3 separate regions of the Homo sapiens genome follow, and all the other regions are linked to region 1. Evidence: promoter capture Hi-C in 16 types of primary human blood cells and fetal thymus (Javierre and others, 2016). All regions are on one chromosome and are shown on one strand. Each heading gives the region's core, a stretch centred on a gene start or on the middle of the fragment in contact. The rest is flanking DNA. Distances are from core to core; before and after follow the strand shown. Region 1 holds the start of LINC02453 (long intergenic non-protein coding RNA 2453). Region 2 has its middle 94 kb from the start of APAF1. Region 3 overlaps APAF1 (apoptotic peptidase activating factor 1).

The links. Contacts are between HindIII fragments. The CHiCAGO score rates a contact against its expected background, and 5 or more counts as called.
Region 2: a fragment that was not itself captured here is called in contact with the fragment with the promoter of LINC02453 in region 1 in 1 of 17 cell types (neutrophils); the score reaches 10.5 in neutrophils.
Region 3: a contact is called between a fragment that was not itself captured here and the fragment with the promoter of LINC02453 in region 1, in 5 of 17 cell types (neutrophils, naive CD8 T cells, total B cells and 2 more). The highest score is 8.7, in neutrophils.

What each region holds. Positions count from the first base shown.
Region 1 is chr12:98,502,376-98,505,251 of GRCh38, forward strand. It overlaps LINC02453 (long intergenic non-protein coding RNA 2453), which reads right to left and starts at 1,480. Exons shown (of 4, transcript NR_038383.1): 1 at 1,385-1,480; 2 at 208-237. It overlaps TRD-GTC1-1 (tRNA-Asp (anticodon GTC) 1-1), which reads left to right and starts at 1,128; the gene lies at 1,128-1,199. TRW-CCA4-1 (tRNA-Trp (anticodon CCA) 4-1) reads left to right here and starts at 1,877; the gene lies at 1,877-1,948. RefSeq lists enhancers at 1,218-1,527, 1,538-1,837. The HindIII fragment of the contact is 12,452 bases long and covers 1-2,876 here.
Region 2 is chr12:98,737,389-98,740,264 of GRCh38, forward strand. It overlaps a transcript of ANKS1B not described here. Among named protein-coding and RNA genes, the nearest start is that of APAF1, 94 kb to the left of the region's middle. The HindIII fragment of the contact is 5,081 bases long and covers 1-2,876 here.
Region 3 is chr12:98,703,740-98,706,615 of GRCh38, forward strand. APAF1 (apoptotic peptidase activating factor 1) reads left to right here. Exons shown (of 27, transcript NM_181861.2): 19 at 2,746-2,871. Among named protein-coding and RNA genes, the nearest start is that of APAF1, 60 kb to the left of the region's middle. The HindIII fragment of the contact is 4,085 bases long and covers 1-2,876 here.

The sequences.
Region 1 (2,876 bases), core at 230-2,729:
ACTCCGTCTCAAAAAAAAAAGTTTACATATAAGGCTCTCTTAGTATCCCTGGGAAGAGGGTTCATCCTGTCTATGAACGGGTTTAGGATGACACAAATTATCAAATTATCCGATTAGTGCACTTTCCTAACCCATATGTTTAATCAGTGGCACATCCTGGTTTTGAATTATTTAAACGCATTATTATTTAGCCATTCACATACTTACGTTTGTCACTTCCAGTTAAACTGTAGCCACCTACAGAGAGCGAAACAGAAGTCGGCTGATAAAATTTTGATAAAATTTCATTTGCCCGCAGCTGGTCATTTCATTGGGCGCTTTTGTGTTACAAAAGTGTGTGAATTGGCCGGGCGCGGTGGCTCACGCCTGTAAATCCCAGCACTTTGGGAGGCCGAGGCAGGTGGATCACTAAAGGTCACGAGTTCGAGACCAGTCTGGCCAACATGGTGAACCCTCCCCCCCCCCACACACACACACACACCCCGCGTCTCTAGTAAAATACAAAAATTAGCCAGGCATGGTGGTGCGCGCCTGTAATCCCAGCCACTCGAGAGGCTGAGGCGGGAGAATCACTTGAGCCTTGGAGGTGGAGGTTGTAGTGAGCCCAGATCGCAACACTGCACTCCAGCCTAGGGGACAGAGCGAGACTTCCTCTCAAAAAAAAAAGACTTATGAATTGTTTGAAGAGGCACGAGACCGTGGCAACCCTAACTGTCCCCGACATCTGGCAGCCATATGCTATCCTTGAACTTGAACTTCAGAGTGAAAGTATAAATTTGTAAGGGGAAGGCTCAGCCGCAAGTCACATACCAGTGGTCAGTTAAAAAAAAAAAACTCAGGACGGCAACCTAAATCATTTAGAACGCGTCAAGAGCCTCGGAAAAACTATTTTCACACACTTCTCTAGCACTAACATGGGAAGCGCGTTTCCTTCACATATTCCACACCTTTTATTCTTCCCACCAACATCAAGAATACAAAGCGCCCAGAGAGGACAATAAGCCTAAGCAGCGGCTCCAAGAGACCGGACTTTCGTACTTCCCGGGGGCAGGCGGAAGGTTACGGAGCGCTGGAAGGATCTTACTGCTCCTTGAAGGGCTGTCTGAGAAAATACACAGCCTAACGACTCCTCGTTAGTATAGTGGTTAGTATCCCCGCCTGTCACGCGGGAGACCGGGGTTCAATTCCCCGACGGGGAGGTGTGTAGCTGCACTTTTTTGGCGACAGTTATTATTTTCTGTATCATTCAATGACAGGACACTGCTGTTAAACATAATATGCTAAACCAGCTCCCTTAAGTGCACAACCCTGTCTTCAAAATGGTGACTTTTAACCTTAATGCCCACCATGAAGTGAAAGCCTCCCCTGAGAGAAAATGCCTTACATTGTTTGCAGGAAGGGAGGAAAGGGAAAAAGAAAACGCTCTGAAGGCCTCTGCCCTTGCCTCCAGCCGCCATCTTGCGAAGGCCTGCGCCGGCTTAGTGGCGCCCCGCCAGATTACAACTCGAGGTCGCGAACTCAGCGCGCGGAACCTGTTGGGGGAGGGGAGAGAGGGCGGAGTCTCGCGACTAACGGGGCGGGGGCAGGGCGGGTAAGAACGGAAATCATTTGGTAAAGAAAAGGAAGGGCCAATTTCCTTTGATCCTGGAGACCCGACTAAACGGGAAGCCCCGTTCTCCCGCTTCCGCTGGTTACGTCCCAGCCTTGGTTAGAGGACTAGCAGTCAGGAAAGTTTGGACGCTGAAGGAATCGGTCTCCTGGTCCGACAGATACTGGGTGGAGGGGCAGAGAGTAAATGGAAGAGAAAGACTGGTACCCCTGGAAGAAACGCCATTTACTGGTGTCCTAAGAAACTGCGCGAGCCACAGCCCAGCAGGACCTCGTGGCGCAACGGTAGCGCGTCTGACTCCAGATCAGAAGGCTGCGTGTTCGAATCACGTCGGGGTCAAACTTTTTTTTTTTCCTCCTGTATTTTAAACTACCGACTACTAGAAGCCGAGGTGTATTCCTGCCGCCAATTTTCTTGAATGTTAGAATTAAGTTTTCCTCTTTCAGGTATTATGATACTAATCCTTGGTTTGCAGGAAGATATGATTTACTCTATATCGAAGAGCCTCAAGGCTGATGTTTTTATCATTTGGCCTTTTAAAGTGAGTTTTTTTGTCACTTAACATGCATAATGTGTAAAGAGGTGGACTATTACTGCTGTGCATTAGTGGGTGTATCAGTCCACTAGTCTATCACAGGAAGTGTACAATATACTGTACAAGCTGTTTTTTCCAAACAGTTTTAGGCTGTTTGCCTTTTGAAAGAGAGTACAATAGTGTACAATTTCTAATTTTGAATATTATGCTAATCAAGTGTCTTAGCCCTTACCATGTGCCAACACTGTGAACAACCTCACAATGTGTGACTATTATCCCACTTTTACAAATGTGGCTGTGGCTCACAGGGTTAGTGACCTGCCAAGGGTCACCCAAGATTCTGAACCAGGTGAGGGACTCTGGATCCCTCTTTATAAATACTTTATAATAAAGGTGGAAACAAACAGTTGAAAGAATGTGTGACTGCCAGGCTCAGTGGCTTACACCTGTAATCCTAGCACTTTGGAAGGCCAAAGTGGGTGGATCACGAGGTCAGGAGTTCAAGACCAGCCTGACCAACATGGTGAAACCCCATTTCTACTGAAAATACAAAAATTAGCTGGGCATGGTGGGGTGCACCTGTAATCCCAGCTACTCCGGAGGCTGAGGCAGAAGAATTGATTGAACCCGGGAGGCGGAGGTTGCAGTGAGCCTGGGTGACCAAGCAAGACTCCTTCTGGAGGTGGGTGGCGGGGAGGAATGTGGGAAAAGCTGTTGGACTGGGCGCCTTTT
Region 2 (2,876 bases), core at 135-2,634, 230 kb after region 1:
CCCTCAAGAGCTGAAGGGCTGCCCTGCCCTCTCCTAGCATTCTCTTTTCTCTGTCATGGCTTTTGTTGTTTTGGAATTGCTTGCTTATTGAGGTCCCCAGTAAATCGTAAGCTCCTTGAAAGCCAGGACTGTATAGAGTCTAACATGAGCCTAGCATTGCAATGAGGGCCTCAGTAAACACTTGTTGGATGACTGGAATTCATCTCCTGAGTTCCATGGGATGAATTTGCCCACGTGTTCATAACACAGTCTATGTTCTTCCTTTCCATAAGGATATCATGAGGCTGTCAAATGAAGATGTAGCATATCACCAGCATTTTATCTTGCCGTTTTAGTTTGGCCTTTTTCTGTGAAACATCATTAGGGGAAAGTAAAACTTTACTTGGACAAAAGAGGTTTGCTACCAAATTATATAAAATGAATAAACATATCCCTGGAGTGTTTAAGTCAGCAAGTATGGCCATCTATTATTCCACAGACATTTTATATTATAATTTACTCACTGAACTTTAACGAAGGAGAAAATGATTTTCTAATAATTCTTAGTCTTTGAAGATTGTCACTGGAATACATTCCTTGCTCATAACCACTCCCCTTGGGACCGTGGATATACTATACAGTTATTAAAATGCCTGAATTAGAAAATCTGCTGCTCTTGGGCTATGAGTTTAACTATAGAAGAATTACTGTATATGCTCACACGAGAGGGGCAGAAGAAGGGGGTCACATTTGAGACGTAGCAGAGACCAGGCCTTTGAAGTCCTCTGGCATCAACAATGACTTGCTCCTGAGTCAAATGATGTGAGAAAACCAGAATTTGGGAAATTTTCATTTCAATTAAGATTCAGGAAAATGAGTCACTGGTGTTCTTTGTAAATTCATTTATGAGGTCAGGCCCCCAGAACTGGGAATGCTCCTTATCACATAGAAATGAATAGAAAAATCTGCCTCTGTAATTTCCATCACCCAGGGCTAGAATATGTAACTAGAGAGGGTGGTCGAGGCCTGAGTTTGGGTCTGGGGGTTCAGAGCAACCGATCAAACTGGAAAACTGAGCAGGTGAGTGGAGACTCCTGCTGTTCTGAGGAGCACACGTTCGCATTCATTCAAATGTTTATCGCCGCTCCACTCGAGGCACTGCCCAACTCTCATTTATCTTCACAGAAGTTGAGTGGATCTGCAGACTGCAGCTTCAGTTTTTAGATAGAGGAAGAACTAAACCCCAGCAGCTAATCGGTGACAAAGCCAGGGCTAGAATCCAAATCTGCTATTCTTTATAGATAGAAAGGCCAAGACTCTTAGGCTTGTAAGTCACCTGTCAGTCACAACTGGAAGTAGAATACTCCTGGGTTCAGTGGCAGATGACATCAGCCTAGGGGTCATAAGGCTTGGTTTCACTAGCTGGGGAAAGTCATCCAATAGCTTACGTGATGGTTTTGGAGATGTTCTTATATTCACCTTCAATTAGCAGTGAGCCCTTCACTAAGCCCTTCATCTTGGGCTTATTGCCCTACTTGCTGTCAATTAACCTCTGGAGACACACCAAGTCTTTTAGAAGGAAGGAAGGGAGCTACTATTTTTTGAGGGCCTTTTATGTGCCAAGCCCACAGGCTGGGCATTTTCCATACGTTATTTAACTGAATCATAACAGTGCTGCAAGGTGTTATCTCTTTCATAGGTGTGCAAACAGATGCAGAGAGGTTAGGTTTCCAGGGCCCCACAGCCAAGTGGTGGAGCTGGGTTTCTGGTCCACGGCCTTCTGTCTCCACTGGGTGACACTCCCTGTACCTTCTCATTGAAGCCCCTGGGCTAGAGGGTCCAAGAGCATCACTTCAGTTCTGCATTTCATTCGTTACTCACTTGCATCAGGACAGATGCATCACTACTAAGCTCTCGGAGAAGGCATCAGATGCTGTCTGCTCCCAAGGAGCTTCTACTTTTGGTAGTCTGCTTAACTTGTATCTGTGCCTGTAGAGATTGCTCTTTGAAAAAAGCAGCAGGAACATTCTGATAGAAGCCAATGGATGGGACAGGTGGGGGGAATGCGTTGGATTTGCCAGCACCTGGCCACTGCCCAACCTGCTCTCAATTCTCAGATGATTCAGGTATTGAGCAAGGAAGGTAGCAGAGCTACTGTTGCCTTCCCTTTGGGGAAGCCTGTTTCTACTTTGAAACTCTTAAGGGATTCATTTCAAATTAGTGGCAGGCCTTGGTTAGTGGATCTGTGTGCTGTCTTCTGCCATCTTGATTGCATCTCCCCCCTTCTCCTTTTCCTTTCATTTGAAAAAAGATGCAGCCCCTCAGAGCCTCACTTTCCTGATTTGTCAAATAGGGAACCTAATGTACAAGGCTTTTGTGGGGCTTAGAAAAAACATGTCAAGAATCTGATATAGATCTCAATAAACAGCATAATACTTATCTTTCGTCCCAGTTACAAACCCCCATTCCTGTACTGCCCAAATCTCCATGATTCACAAATTGCGACCCTGCTGCTTCTGCTCCATGGCAGACACCTAGCTCCAGGCACCCTCCTCTACCACCTCCTTCTCCTTATGGCCATTGGCTTTTAGGAGACAGACATTGCTTACTTAGCAGGAAAGCTGTCACCTGCTTTCTTTTGAACTATCCCGAACTTGATTCTCTTTGGGCGACGCATACACCCATCAAGTGGTAAAGAAGACTGGGAATGAGGGGAGAAAAGACCCTGGGCTTGTTGCTGGGGCCAGTAGCTTGGGAGTGTGGTGGTATGTGTGTGGCTTTGGCTGTCAAGTGGATCTAAGTTCAACCCTGGCTACACTGACTTTCCAGCTGTGTGACTTCAGCAAATGGGTTAATCTCCTCAAGGATTCACTTCCTAGGGAGGCTTTAAATGTCCC
Region 3 (2,876 bases), core at 165-2,664, 200 kb after region 1:
AATGCCTAACATGTGCCAGGAACTGGGAAAACAATGGAATGACTGCTGGTCATGAAACATGACATCTCTTATCCAGTATAGATATGTGGCATTTCTTAAACAGTGTAGGCACAGACTCTTTTCTTCTTAAAAAAGGTGGTGAGAAATGAGTCCAGTTCAGATTTCTTAGATCATTGAGTAGGATAAGATAGGATGTTCATTGCCAGGCACTAATGAATAAAATAACTCATATAAATTACTTTTTTATGATTTTGTACTTACCTGTTAAATTTTATGTTCAGAATGTATACCTAGCTGGCCCTGGAAGAATTCCACCCAGTGAAGTGCTATATTAGTTTTTTCATAAAGTAGTGAATTATTTTTTTCCTTCAAAGATGGATTAGTGCTTTTTTTTTTTGTTTTTTAATAGAAATGGGGGTCTCACTGTGTTGCCCAGGCTGGTCTTGAACTCTTGGCCTCAAGCAATACTCCCCCAGCCTTGGCCTCCCAAAATGCTGGGATTACAGGTGTATCACCTTGCCTGGCCAAAGATAGATTAGTTTTTCCAGGCTTTCTTAGTCTTCATTCCTTAGGTTGGTTTTACCACCAGGTAGTTTGAAACCCCTTCAGATCACAGTTCCAAGAAGATGGGTATGGGCCTTTTGGAAAATAGAGAAATTCACTGGGTTCACAGGCTCCTCATCAAGGGAGCCATGACTACTGCAAGCACTTCTTCAGTGTTCTCTGCTTATTTAGCAAATTTTAGTGAGTTTGCCAGCCTTGCCCATTACTGTGAAGGTGTTGGGGGAGAGTTGCTAAGCTATAGCCCTTCAACATAGAGGCACAGGTGAGAGTGAGGGCATGAGATCCATAGGCTTCTCCTAATTCTAGGTGCAGCAGTGCATGTGACACTGAAGAACTTCCCTACTGAGACTCTTCCCATTGCACACAGAGGCAGGGAGTGTGAAAAAGCTCTAGTCCTGTATGAAACAGCGGGAAGAAGTAGGGTGCTGTGGGCAGTGTTTTGTTGGGCAGAGACTTTGAATTGGAAGTGTTTTGTTTTGTGTTACTTTGTTTTTGAGACAGAGTCTCTCTCTGTCACCCAGGCTGCAGTGTAGTGTTGTAATCTCAGCTCACTGCAACCTCCACCTCCCGGGTTCAAGCTATTCTCTTGCCTTAGCTTTCTGAGTAGCTGGGATTACAGGTGCCCACCAGCATGCCCGGCTAATTTTTTTTTGTATTTTTCATGGAGATAGGGTTTCACCATGTTGGCCAGGGTGGTCTCGAATTCCTGACCTCAAGTGATCCACCTGCCTCAGCCTCCCAAAGTGCTGGGGTTTATTGGGTTTTAGATCTCCTAGGAGATCTTGAACCTTATGTGTAGATCCTCAAAGTAAATGTGGAGCGTTTGTTAGGATTTTTAGAAACAGTACTAAGTAGCAACCCCTCTTTCAGCCTTTCTTGTCACTTCTAAAGTCCTTACCCTCTGCCATCCTTAGCAATCTCCAGGAAACAATGAAAGAGTATCTTCCTTCTTGAAATGTAGGGACTCAGCTCTGGAGGCTCTGAGTGACAAAGAAATGATGGGAGAGAGATGGGGAGAAGAAAGTGGGAAGAGAGGGGAGGATTCTCAAGGGAGATTTTCAGTTTCTTAGGAGAGATTTTCAGTTGTGGAACCACTTTCATTTTTGGCCCTTAGCTCTGTATGTCCCAGCTTGGACTCTTAGAGATAAGGCGGAGAAAATTTCATATAATTAGTTCATAACCACAGAACTCACTGAATGAAAACCAGTCACTGGGCCTATGATGAGGTACTTGTTTTGTCCATGCTAGTTCTGAAATGATAAAGTAGTTCTGTAATTTAAAGTGTAATGAGAGGAACTCAGTCACATATGGTACTTCATTAGACTTGAATATATTAGAGTAATTTACAGCAGAACCCAGGATAAAATACCAGGCTGCTGGTAGACATGGTAATAAGCATGAATAACAAGAGAAATGTGTACATGTTACAATTATTGTGTTAATTTATTGTAGGTTTTACAGTCAGTTGAAATGAAGGTTAGATGACAGTATTAGTGGAAAATAATCTGAATATGGAAGCTGCTTTTGTTCATCCTATTATTTTTTGGATTGACTTTTTTAAAGTGATAAAATATTTGCATGATTCCAAAGTCAAAGTTTTATAATGCGTTATATTCAGAGAAGTCTTGCTTTCATCCCTATCCCTTCGCCTCGCTCTCCCTCCTTCCCTGCATATGTAAACTATTTTCTGTTTTTGGCTTAACTGTCCAATATTTCTTGCATATATAAGCAGATATCTATATGCATATATATCCATACCTGTATCCTTCTATATGTTCTTGTACATATTTTTCCATCTCATATAAAAGATAGTAGTGTATAGTATATAGACTCTTCTACACTTTGCTTTTTTTCTGTTAACAATATATCCTAGAGATTTGTCGTCATCAAGGTGTTTTTCTCATTGTTTTTAATGGCTGCATGATATTCCATTATGTGATTAATGTAGTTTATTCAGTTGGTTCCCTATTGATGAGTATTTAGTTTCCTAGTATTTTGCTATAAAAAATAATGATGCACTAAATAATCTTCTGCATAAGACATTTTGTAGTTTTGATAGTGTGTTTCTGAGCAATATTCATTGAAGTGGTATTGCTGGCTCATTCTTGCTATTTTCAATATTTTTGCTCTCTTCAAAATGCTTATGTATGTGATTTCCTATATGCTGTGTTTATTCTGTAGTTGTGGAATACAGACTCACGTTCAAAGGTGGCTGATTGCAGAGGACATTTAAGTTGGGTTCATGGTGTGATGTTTTCTCCTGATGGATCATCATTTTTGACATCTTCTGATGACCAGACAATCAGGGTGAG